Regions from separate parts of the Homo sapiens genome. Here region 2 is linked to region 1. Evidence: promoter capture Hi-C in human tissues and cell types (Jung and others, 2019). All regions are on one chromosome and are shown on one strand. Each heading gives the region's core, a stretch centred on a gene start or on the middle of the fragment in contact. The rest is flanking DNA. Distances are from core to core; before and after follow the strand shown. Region 1 holds the start of TFAP2D (transcription factor AP-2 delta). Region 2 overlaps TFAP2B (transcription factor AP-2 beta).

Region 1 (4,256 bases), core at 773-3,272:
CAAGCATGTAAGTTAAACCCTGGACACTCTTTGTTTGGATACCTAAAAGTCACTCAGGAAAGTGAACCATGAAAGTGGGGTTAGGGGGTGGAATGCGATGATTGCCAGTTAGTTGGTGATGTCCTGATGTTCACAGGGTCCAGGCTACTGGAGGTCATTCCATGGGGTGTACTCAGTTCAAGGCCAGAGCTCATTACCGAGAGTATCATAAAGCTATATCTTCTGAGTGCGGTGGCAGGGGTGAGGGGGGCTATGTGTGGCTCTTATTCCAGACAGGGACAAACATGTGGAACAAACACTCTGGGCCAGCAGGCAGAGCAGGCGGCCACATCTTCCTGAGCTTCCTCATTGTTGTTCCCCGGGGAGAGGGTTTTGTGTCTGCTGCCTGGACCTAAACTGGGAAGAGAAGGTACCGTCACCTTCAATGAAGGTGTATCTGACAGTAGGGGTGTTGGAAAGGAGATTGCAACATGTCTGAGAAGGGCTATCCTCTTCCATTTGACCGGGACTAACTGGGAAGCCAATATCATCCACCAGGAAAAGCGCACCTGGGCATTCCCCAAGATAACCTGCAAGTCCTACATATTCTTCCAGGGAATGGTCTGCACTTTCCCAGGGGCAGGGGTGCCTGAGTTAAGGTCGTGGGGGCAGTCTCCATCTCCCAGAGATGATTAGTTATTTTCTCCGTGGGTAAGCTATGGAGGCCCCACTCAGACCTGGTAAACAAAGACTCCACTGCAAACATTTTTGGGATTCAACCCCTAGAGCCAACAGCACTCATTTTACCCCTTTTACTTAAAGATTAAGTTGGATATTCTTCCTTTTTGTCATCATTGGTCTCTCAGTCTCCTTACTTCATTAGGCCAAAATATGGAATTTCAAGGAGGGGTGGGAGGGGGGCAGCACTGGCACACCTTGAAATAGGGAACAAGTGTTGGCTGCTGACCCCATGTGGGGCTGAAGAATCGTGTATCTCCATTTCAGACAATGCATTTCAATTCTTGTCGTGTGCCTTTGTCCATTTGTATAAAGCAAAGAGCTCTGAGTGACAGCCCCAGTTAGCCTGCATGAGCAGATCCTAATAAACCCTCCCAAACCCCAACCTAAAAAAAAAAAAAGCCACATGCCTGTTTGCCTGAGGCTTATTATTAAGACACCTTCTCAGCTTAAACACTTAAAAGCAAACCAAATGAAATGGCAATTAAGACTGAATTACCCCTTCTATCTATGAGATGAGTCTGTGGGGCCAGCCAGTTCTTTCTTATAATGTAGACACTGAGGAGCAAAGCCTCAGTATTTCAGGTTTATAGCTACCACCACCCCCTCCAGGCACTAAACAACTTGGTGGAGGAAGCTGAATTTTGAAGGAAGGAAAGCTCAAAAACTGTTTGAAAGTCAAGAAATCCACTGAAGAGATGGAAATATGTGTGCACTGCTTCCTTCCTGCCCTCTATTTATAAAATATAACTTCCAAGCATTTAAGGGTTATTTTGGGGGTAATAGTGTTCAAAAACCTAATGCTACTGCTGAACGGTCTACACCCCACCACCACCAGCAGTGTTTCCAAAAGGGAAGAAGAAAAACACAAAAGAGGGGGGATATGGTTTGGTTTGGGGAGTGAAAGACAACAGTTTACCTAAATGTAGAATCTTGTCTTACATCTTTATTCCCTTGCATTTTTCCTAAATGCATTGCCAGTTACACCATTTCCTGATGATGGAAACTTGGGACTGTCCATCACCATTATTTATTTTTAAAGCTGCTGAAAAGTGTAAGCCACCGCTTGATTTTGCCTTTCAAAAAAGGGGAAAGAACCCAAATTCAATGTAAATATGGAAAGACCAGCATTGTTTCCACTTGGGCGAAGGCAGACACCCCAATCTGGGCAAAATTGATTCGGGTGGTTGTTGGAAAAAGCAGCTTTCAGCATCCAGGGAGTGGAACCAATAGGAATGAACACTTCCCCATATAAAAGGAAGCTTTAATTAATATATATTTCTATCTCTAATATACATATATTGGAGCTAGAGCTCTAGCTTCACAATAAAATGTGTGCAAATACTCTCCACAGAGATAAGTCCCCACCTCAGTCGGTATAGAAAAGCATGATAAAGGTTGGAAAAAATGGATAAAAATGTTGAAAGAACCTCCAGTTCCTTATTAGGCGAAGATACAATATTTATTCCTTGTCTCCTGGGATAAATCTCTTCTGCCTATTGTCCTCCCAGTTCTCAGTGCTGATGCTTAATTTTCAAAACTTCTATATTACCAAGGGACCTACGACATCAGCCAAAGAAATACTCAGCAAGTACAAAATCTGTTCCAGGGAGCTGCTTTTGTGCAGAGGGAAAATTTTGTTCCTACAGGTTTTTAAGTGGGTACGAGGCAAGGAGCTATCTGATCCGGGCAAAACCATTACAATTTAGATATCTACCTATAGAACATTTTTTTTTTCCTTTAAAAATTGGAAAATACAAGAAGTTTGGATTTTTTTTTCCCGATTCTTTTTTTGGAGGGGGAAATTGCATCGTAAGCTTTCGGAGAAACCCAACATGTCAACTACCTTTCCGGGACTAGTCCACGATGCCGAGGTATTATTACTTTTTTTTTTTTTTTTTTTTGAGCGCGCGTGTGTGTGGCGGCGGCGGCGGTGGCGGCGGTGGCGGCGGCGGTGGCAGCCTCCCCTGTCTCTAATCTATATTGGACCGTTACGTTTAATTATAATCTGTCTTTCGGGGGAAGTTAAGGAAGGAAAGGGGAGAAAGTTCGTTATGACATCTGTCGCCAGGGAGGGCAACTCTCTGCCACGTTAAGAAACATTTGCCATAATGAGCGGGAAAACATAATCTTAATAATAAAAGGGGGGAGTGAAGAGAAAGAGATAGAGACGGAAAGAAAGATTCTCAGAAAAGCAAAGAAAAGGGACTGGTGGGGAAGCAGTAGATGCACAAGGGGGATGGGGAAAACGCACCCCTTTTGGAATGGGCTTATTCAAGGAAAGGGAAGCAGAAAAGAGGGAGTCGGATTCCCTCCCTCGAATGACTAAGGAAGGGAGCAAGTTGAACGATTTGCACAGACTGGATTTTTTAAAATATATGGACAATGATTTTGAGCAGCCCGGGCCGAACATCTCGGCATAGACAGGCGCAGAATTTCGATGCTGGGGTCTAGTTAGAGTGGCAAGGCGCCCCGGGCCAGCGCTCTTTTCGGGTGGACTCGTTCCTCTGCTACCCGCGGCCCCGGAGTCAGTTGCAAACCTGGATCCCAACGCCAAGCTCCCTGCACAAGTTGGGCAGGGGCTGTGTGTGTGTCTGTGTGTGTGTGTCTGTGCGTGTGTGTGCGTGTGTGGTGTCACCCGCACCTATATAGGGTGGGGGATTTTTTTTCCGCTCTCTCGACTGTGAGGACGAGGCCGCCCACCCCCAGTTCGCCTGTTTGCAAAGGCTCTCTGGTGAAGACGCTGAGACCCGGCTTCGGCTCGGCCCGAGTCCTACGCGCTCGCTTTCCTTGGAGTGCCAGAGAAAGCTCCTGGCTCCGGGAGAGCGGCGCCTTGGTTGCAAAATGACAAACCTCAAGTTTTTCTGCTCTCCCTTTTCCCCCTCTTCCTTCCAGATACGTCACGACGGATCAAACAGCTACCGTTTGATGCAGCTTGGCTGTCTGGAGTCAGTAGCCAATTCCACTGTCGCCTATTCCTCCTCCTCTCCTTTAACTTACTCCACCACCGGCACCGAGTTTGCGTCCCCCTACTTCTCCACTAACCACCAGTACACCCCGCTCCACCACCAGTCCTTCCATTACGAGTTTCAGCACAGCCACCCGGCCGTCACCCCCGACGCCTACTCTCTGAACTCTCTCCACCACTCGCAACAGTACTACCAGCAGATCCACCACGGGGAGCCCACCGACTTTATTAACCTGCACAATGCGCGGGCGCTCAAGTCGTCCTGCCTGGACGAGCAGAGGCGGGAGCTGGGCTGCCTCGATGCCTACCGCCGCCATGACCTGTCCCTCATGAGCCATGGCTCTCAGTATGGAATGCACCCAGATCAAAGACTCCTGCCAGGGCCCAGCCTGGGGCTGGCCGCCGCGGGAGCAGACGACTTGCAGGTAAATAAGCATGCAGCGAATTTGTCTGCTCCCTCCCCTCTTCGCCCTCCCCCTGCCGCCCCATTAATGCTCCGACTGTAAAGCGTCTCTCTTTCTCTCTCTCTTCTCCTCTCTCTCTCTCTCTCTCTCTCTCTCTCACACACACA
Region 2 (4,569 bases), core at 1,362-3,861, 130 kb after region 1:
TGTTCTGCAGGATTTATAGTTAGGACCCACTCAATTCTCCAGGACTCCCGGTTTTGCCCCCCTCCCGCTTTGCCTTGGTGGGGGTGGGGATTGGGGGAGTGGGGATTGCGTTGGGGTTTTAGGAATCTGCTGAGAGCTTTGCCCATTTTTATTAAAAGAGGAAAGGGAAGTTAGGAAGCTCGTCTCAGGTCACCAAAAGGGCCCAAGCAACTGTTAGGGCCACACTGCAGCCCATCTCCAACCCCTAGCTTCGTTTAGCACTTCTGATCTTCATGGCCCAGCCCTAGAACTGTTGAGAGGAATGCAATGGCCAAGAGCTAGACGTTACGGAGAGTGTAGTCACTCTCTTTTCCCAGCTCAGAGGCCTGCGCCTTCGTCCGAGAGCTCGGCCGATCGCATTAGATGTGTTCTGATTGCACAAGGCCAGGAGAGACCACACTGAAAACGATCGTCTCCTTTCCTTGCAGGGCAACGCGCCCCACGCGTGTGACGTGCGAGAGACGCGATGGACGCGCCTTGCTCTTACTGTGCAGGTCCTGAGAGCGTGTGGGCCACAGGCGCCCAGTCGTGTTGAGGACATAGAATCAGCCGCTGGAGGGGCTGCCGACTGCGCGGGCCCTTCCCGCTCTCGGTCTCACCCTAAGGGCTAAGGCGACCGAGAAAGCCCCATTCTCCAGTAGGTAATGGGGCGGCGCCCGGTGGGCTGCAGGTGGGGAGGGCTCCCAGCGCCGCCAGCGGCCACCCGGGGCGCCGGCTCCTGGAGGGAGAGTGGCCTAGAAATATCCAAGGAATCCGAAGCTTCCCCTCCTCCACCTCTGCCAGTACGGAAACACCCCACCGTCACAATCCTAAAGCGGGGAGATGGGATGGGAATTGTCTTACTTGGCAAGGCAGGGTACCTTCATTGCCAGACGCCCTCATTTGTGTGTTCCTCCTTGCTCCAGCGAGATAGAACCTTTTGCGCCCCCAACCCCGTTTCGTGGAGTGAGCCCACTACCCCTTCTCCCTCCCTCACTTCTCCTTTCATGTAGGACCCCCGCCCCCTTGCTTTCCTTAGCCAGGCCCGCTACATTTATCTGATAATTGAGTTATTAAAAGATTTGGTTTCCTTGGGCCTATAAATCAATAAACAGTAGGATTAACGCAATAGTTTGCCTTTTAAGTCAAGGGAGACGTTTAAGGCAAGCCCCTTTGAGCTTTGTTTTCAAACCAAACAGGTGAGTTGCAGCTCTCCCCCCGGCCCCTGCACTCTTCAGACATTTGGTCCCTGCCCACTCCTAAACGCTCAGTCCCAAAACAAAATAGCGAAAGACAGGAGGAGTCAGGATGTGGCAGTGCTGCCTTCACACTTTCCACTTCGCAAGTTCTTTTAAAGGTTCCAAAGATCTCCAGACCATTCTCTGCCAAACCCTGCCGCCTCCTGCACGTATTGCAGGTCTCTGGGGAGCAAGAAATGTCCTGTTTGGGTGAGGATTCCGTCACCTAAAAAGATCTTTAACTTCTCCCCCAAAGTGGGAAGGTAACTTTCTCCCCCTTTTCCCCACCACCTTCACTCCTACACCCCCAATTACCTTGCATTTTCTTTCCTTCCTTCTGGCCTCCACACCCATAGCTTTCCTCCATCCCCACTTAAAGAACCGAAGAGGCTTTTAAAGACCTGGCTGCTTTGTTTTCCTTGGCCAAGGAAGCCACTTTCTCTCAAGCAATTATTTCATATCCTACGAAAACTTTGGTCGAATGGAAAACTCGAAACCTCGAGCTTATCTACACACTGTTCCTCTGCTACAATGCTTTCCTAGTTAAGAGTGTTTATAGAGAATTTGTCATCACATCTGATATCCTGTACTTGTAATACATTATGTGGAAAGGAAATAACCTTAAACCGTCTGATGTTGCCTCAAGAGCCCAAACGGCGTTTCCCCACCTTTGACGATGTATGTGAAATTACTGGCTTAAAAAAAAAAGTATCAATTTTTTTTTAACGGAATGAACACTATCCTTCTTTAAATGCCAAAATCGACTCCACCTTTGAGTTGGTCTCTAATTCTCTAACATTGTTTTTGCCACACAATCAAGAAATATCAATCTATTGACTCTTCACGAGAAGAGCTCTGGAGGGTATTCATGTTAAGTTTGTATATATTTATTTATGCTTAATTTAATGGGAATGTGTAAATATGGCGAGCAAGTAGTTTGGGATTATTTATCTGTGAATCTATACCTCTGTGAATGGGTGGTTAAAAAACCTCTTGACCCTAGATAGAATCCTATCTGAATTTTTCTGTTCTTTATAAACAAGCTGTTATGGTAATGGGTAGAAATTGGTTTATTGTCCAGTGTTAATCTGATTTACATAAATAAAAAGATTGTTGTGTTTTCATCTTCAGTTTCTTAAATGTGGACAATGTTTTTAATTCTACCGACAGAGGAAAAGTGTAAGAAGCTTTTTACTTTTTGTCCTCCCCCATCGAAGCACCCACAGCGTTTTCATTACAACAGAAATATAATAAATTTTGCTTCTCAGAAAAATGAACTTTTTTTCACTAGGAGAAGTGTTTTTGATTTTTTTAAATTCCAAATTTACATTCTTCTCTCCTATTTCTAACCAGATTTGCAATAAAAGCTAATGTTAACTGAATCTTTTGGTTTCTTCTGCCCTTTACAAATCGAGGAGTCAAATTTACTTCCCAGGTAACTAGAGGACTCTGGGTTGCTGTCAGAGATGATGCTCCCTTCCCACTGCTCGTGGGTTGGCATTCTGGCATAGTGTTCTAAGAAGGAGATGGTGCACGGTGCAGGAGAAGTCTTCAGGGCTGGGTGTGGGCTCCTGCACCCCTCAACTTGGGATATGAAGGAGTTAACCCCCATTTCAGAATTGAACCCGACCCTGACCTCATTAGCAGTGCAAGGCCCTCCATAAACAATGGAGGAAAAAGCTCCCTCAACTGAGAAGAGGAAAAAAGTGTACATGTCTTAGGAAGTTGGGGGGCTCCTACCCTAGGCTCAGAGGCTGCCTAGAGAAGCCAGAGCTTTTCACACCTGGGTTAATAGGCTTCAGCTGGGCCCTAATGGGCTGCAGTGATCAAACATCGTCTCAATCTGTATTTTATTCCAAGGCTTAGGTGTCTTCCTTGAGGCCAGGAAAGCAAAATCACCCACGATGTTAAACAGTTTGGATGAGTCACTGCTCCTTTTTGCGCCTCAAGGTCTTTATCTGTAAAAATAAATATGGACCTCCTAAGGTCCTTTACTTCATCAATATTGCCTATAGTTTAATTATAAAAAGCAGAAACAGCAACCTGTATATGAGTTTAAGGAGAATTGGAAACTTTAAATCATGATGATCCCAGATTTATATATCAGTGCTTAGCATATAGTTTGTTTTCAGTTAATAATATGCCTCCCATACCAATTTTCTGTTTTTAAACGTGAATCTTTTTCAATTGGACTTCCTTATAGGGAAAGGCAGAAGGAACAATGGAATCTGCTTTATGTGAGATTTCCCCCTTCCTGTCCTATTAATTAAAAGCGGGAAGATCATGGCTAGAACTATAAATAGTGGAATCAAAGAAAAGCAAAACAAACAAACAAACAAAAAAAAACAAAAAACAAAAAATGGGGGGGGGAATAAAAGGAAACAAGGAAGCAGAGAAAACCAAGGGATGTGTGCTTATGAGGACATACATTTATCTAGAAAAAAATAGATATGTCTTATTCTCTGGTTCAATTGTTACACTGAGTGTTCCTTTCATTTGCTTTACAGAGGATGGGAGTTGGTTACCACTGGGATTATACAAAGCAGGTGGTGGGTAATTTCCATATCGTATGGCAATTTTTCCTGCTCAAGGTTAGCACGAGCCCTTGATAAACCGACCTGCAATCTATTATCCCACAGGTAAGCTCCAGGCTACTCCTACCCACCACCGCCACTTGGCAAAAAGAGGGTCTGAAACAATCACCTTTAGTAAGTAAAACCCAAGATTTTGAGGAGCCTGAAAATAACTGAAGGAAAGACCTGGCAAGAATAACCAAAAAGGGAAAGAAAAGGGGTTGGAAGCTGGAGACAGCCTTGACTAAGACAGCCCTGGGCTGCGTGTCACAGCTCCCCGGCCCCTTTGTTACAGTGTTAGCAGGCTGTAGAGGGAGTAAGGAAAGAGCAGTAGCTAGAACCTCTAGGTCGTTGACCGGCCCAGCGCAGGGACCCTGAGACCGCCAGATCCGGTGGGCGGCTTACAGTGGCCCAGAACGCACCCGCCGGCTCGTGTTAGCGGGTTAAGGGCTTGATTAAAAATAGTGCTGGAAGGAAGACCCGATTATTTTTTTATGAAGCCACATTCCTTTTCTTCATTTGCAAATAACAGTTCCGTAGGGTCCCTTCCCAGGGACCCTGGGCGCCGAAGTTAGGGGCCACCTGAGAGTTGTTGGCCCGGTGGGAAGTGTCCCTTCCTGAGGGCGCTCTCGGCTTCTCAGGGCAAGCTGCCTTCCACGCTTGGACTTTGAGGGCGGTTGTCTGTCATGTTGAAGCCTCAGAAATTAAACGTGCAGCTCACAAGTCCATTAATTTGAGCT

Evidence for each region. The method cuts DNA at HindIII sites, captures the fragments that hold promoters and counts their contacts. A contact is called where the count stands out against the background at its distance.
Region 2: a fragment that was not itself captured here is called in contact with the fragment with the promoter of TFAP2D in region 1 in 2 of the 25 tissues and cell types used here (H1 embryonic stem cells and neural progenitor cells).

Annotation. Positions count from the first base shown.
Region 1 is chr6:50,711,504-50,715,759 of GRCh38, forward strand. It overlaps TFAP2D (transcription factor AP-2 delta), which reads left to right and starts at 2,023. Exons shown (of 8, transcript NM_172238.4): 1 at 2,023-2,591; 2 at 3,613-4,110. The coding sequence starts at 2,553. RefSeq lists an enhancer at 3,757-4,256. The HindIII fragment of the contact is 8,496 bases long and covers 1-3,591 here.
Region 2 is chr6:50,845,234-50,849,802 of GRCh38, forward strand. TFAP2B (transcription factor AP-2 beta) reads left to right here. Exons shown (of 7, transcript NM_003221.4): 7 at 1-2,386. Among named protein-coding and RNA genes, the nearest start is that of TFAP2B, 29 kb to the left of the region's middle. RefSeq lists enhancers at 3,787-4,288, 4,289-4,569. The HindIII fragment of the contact is 5,266 bases long and covers 1-4,569 here.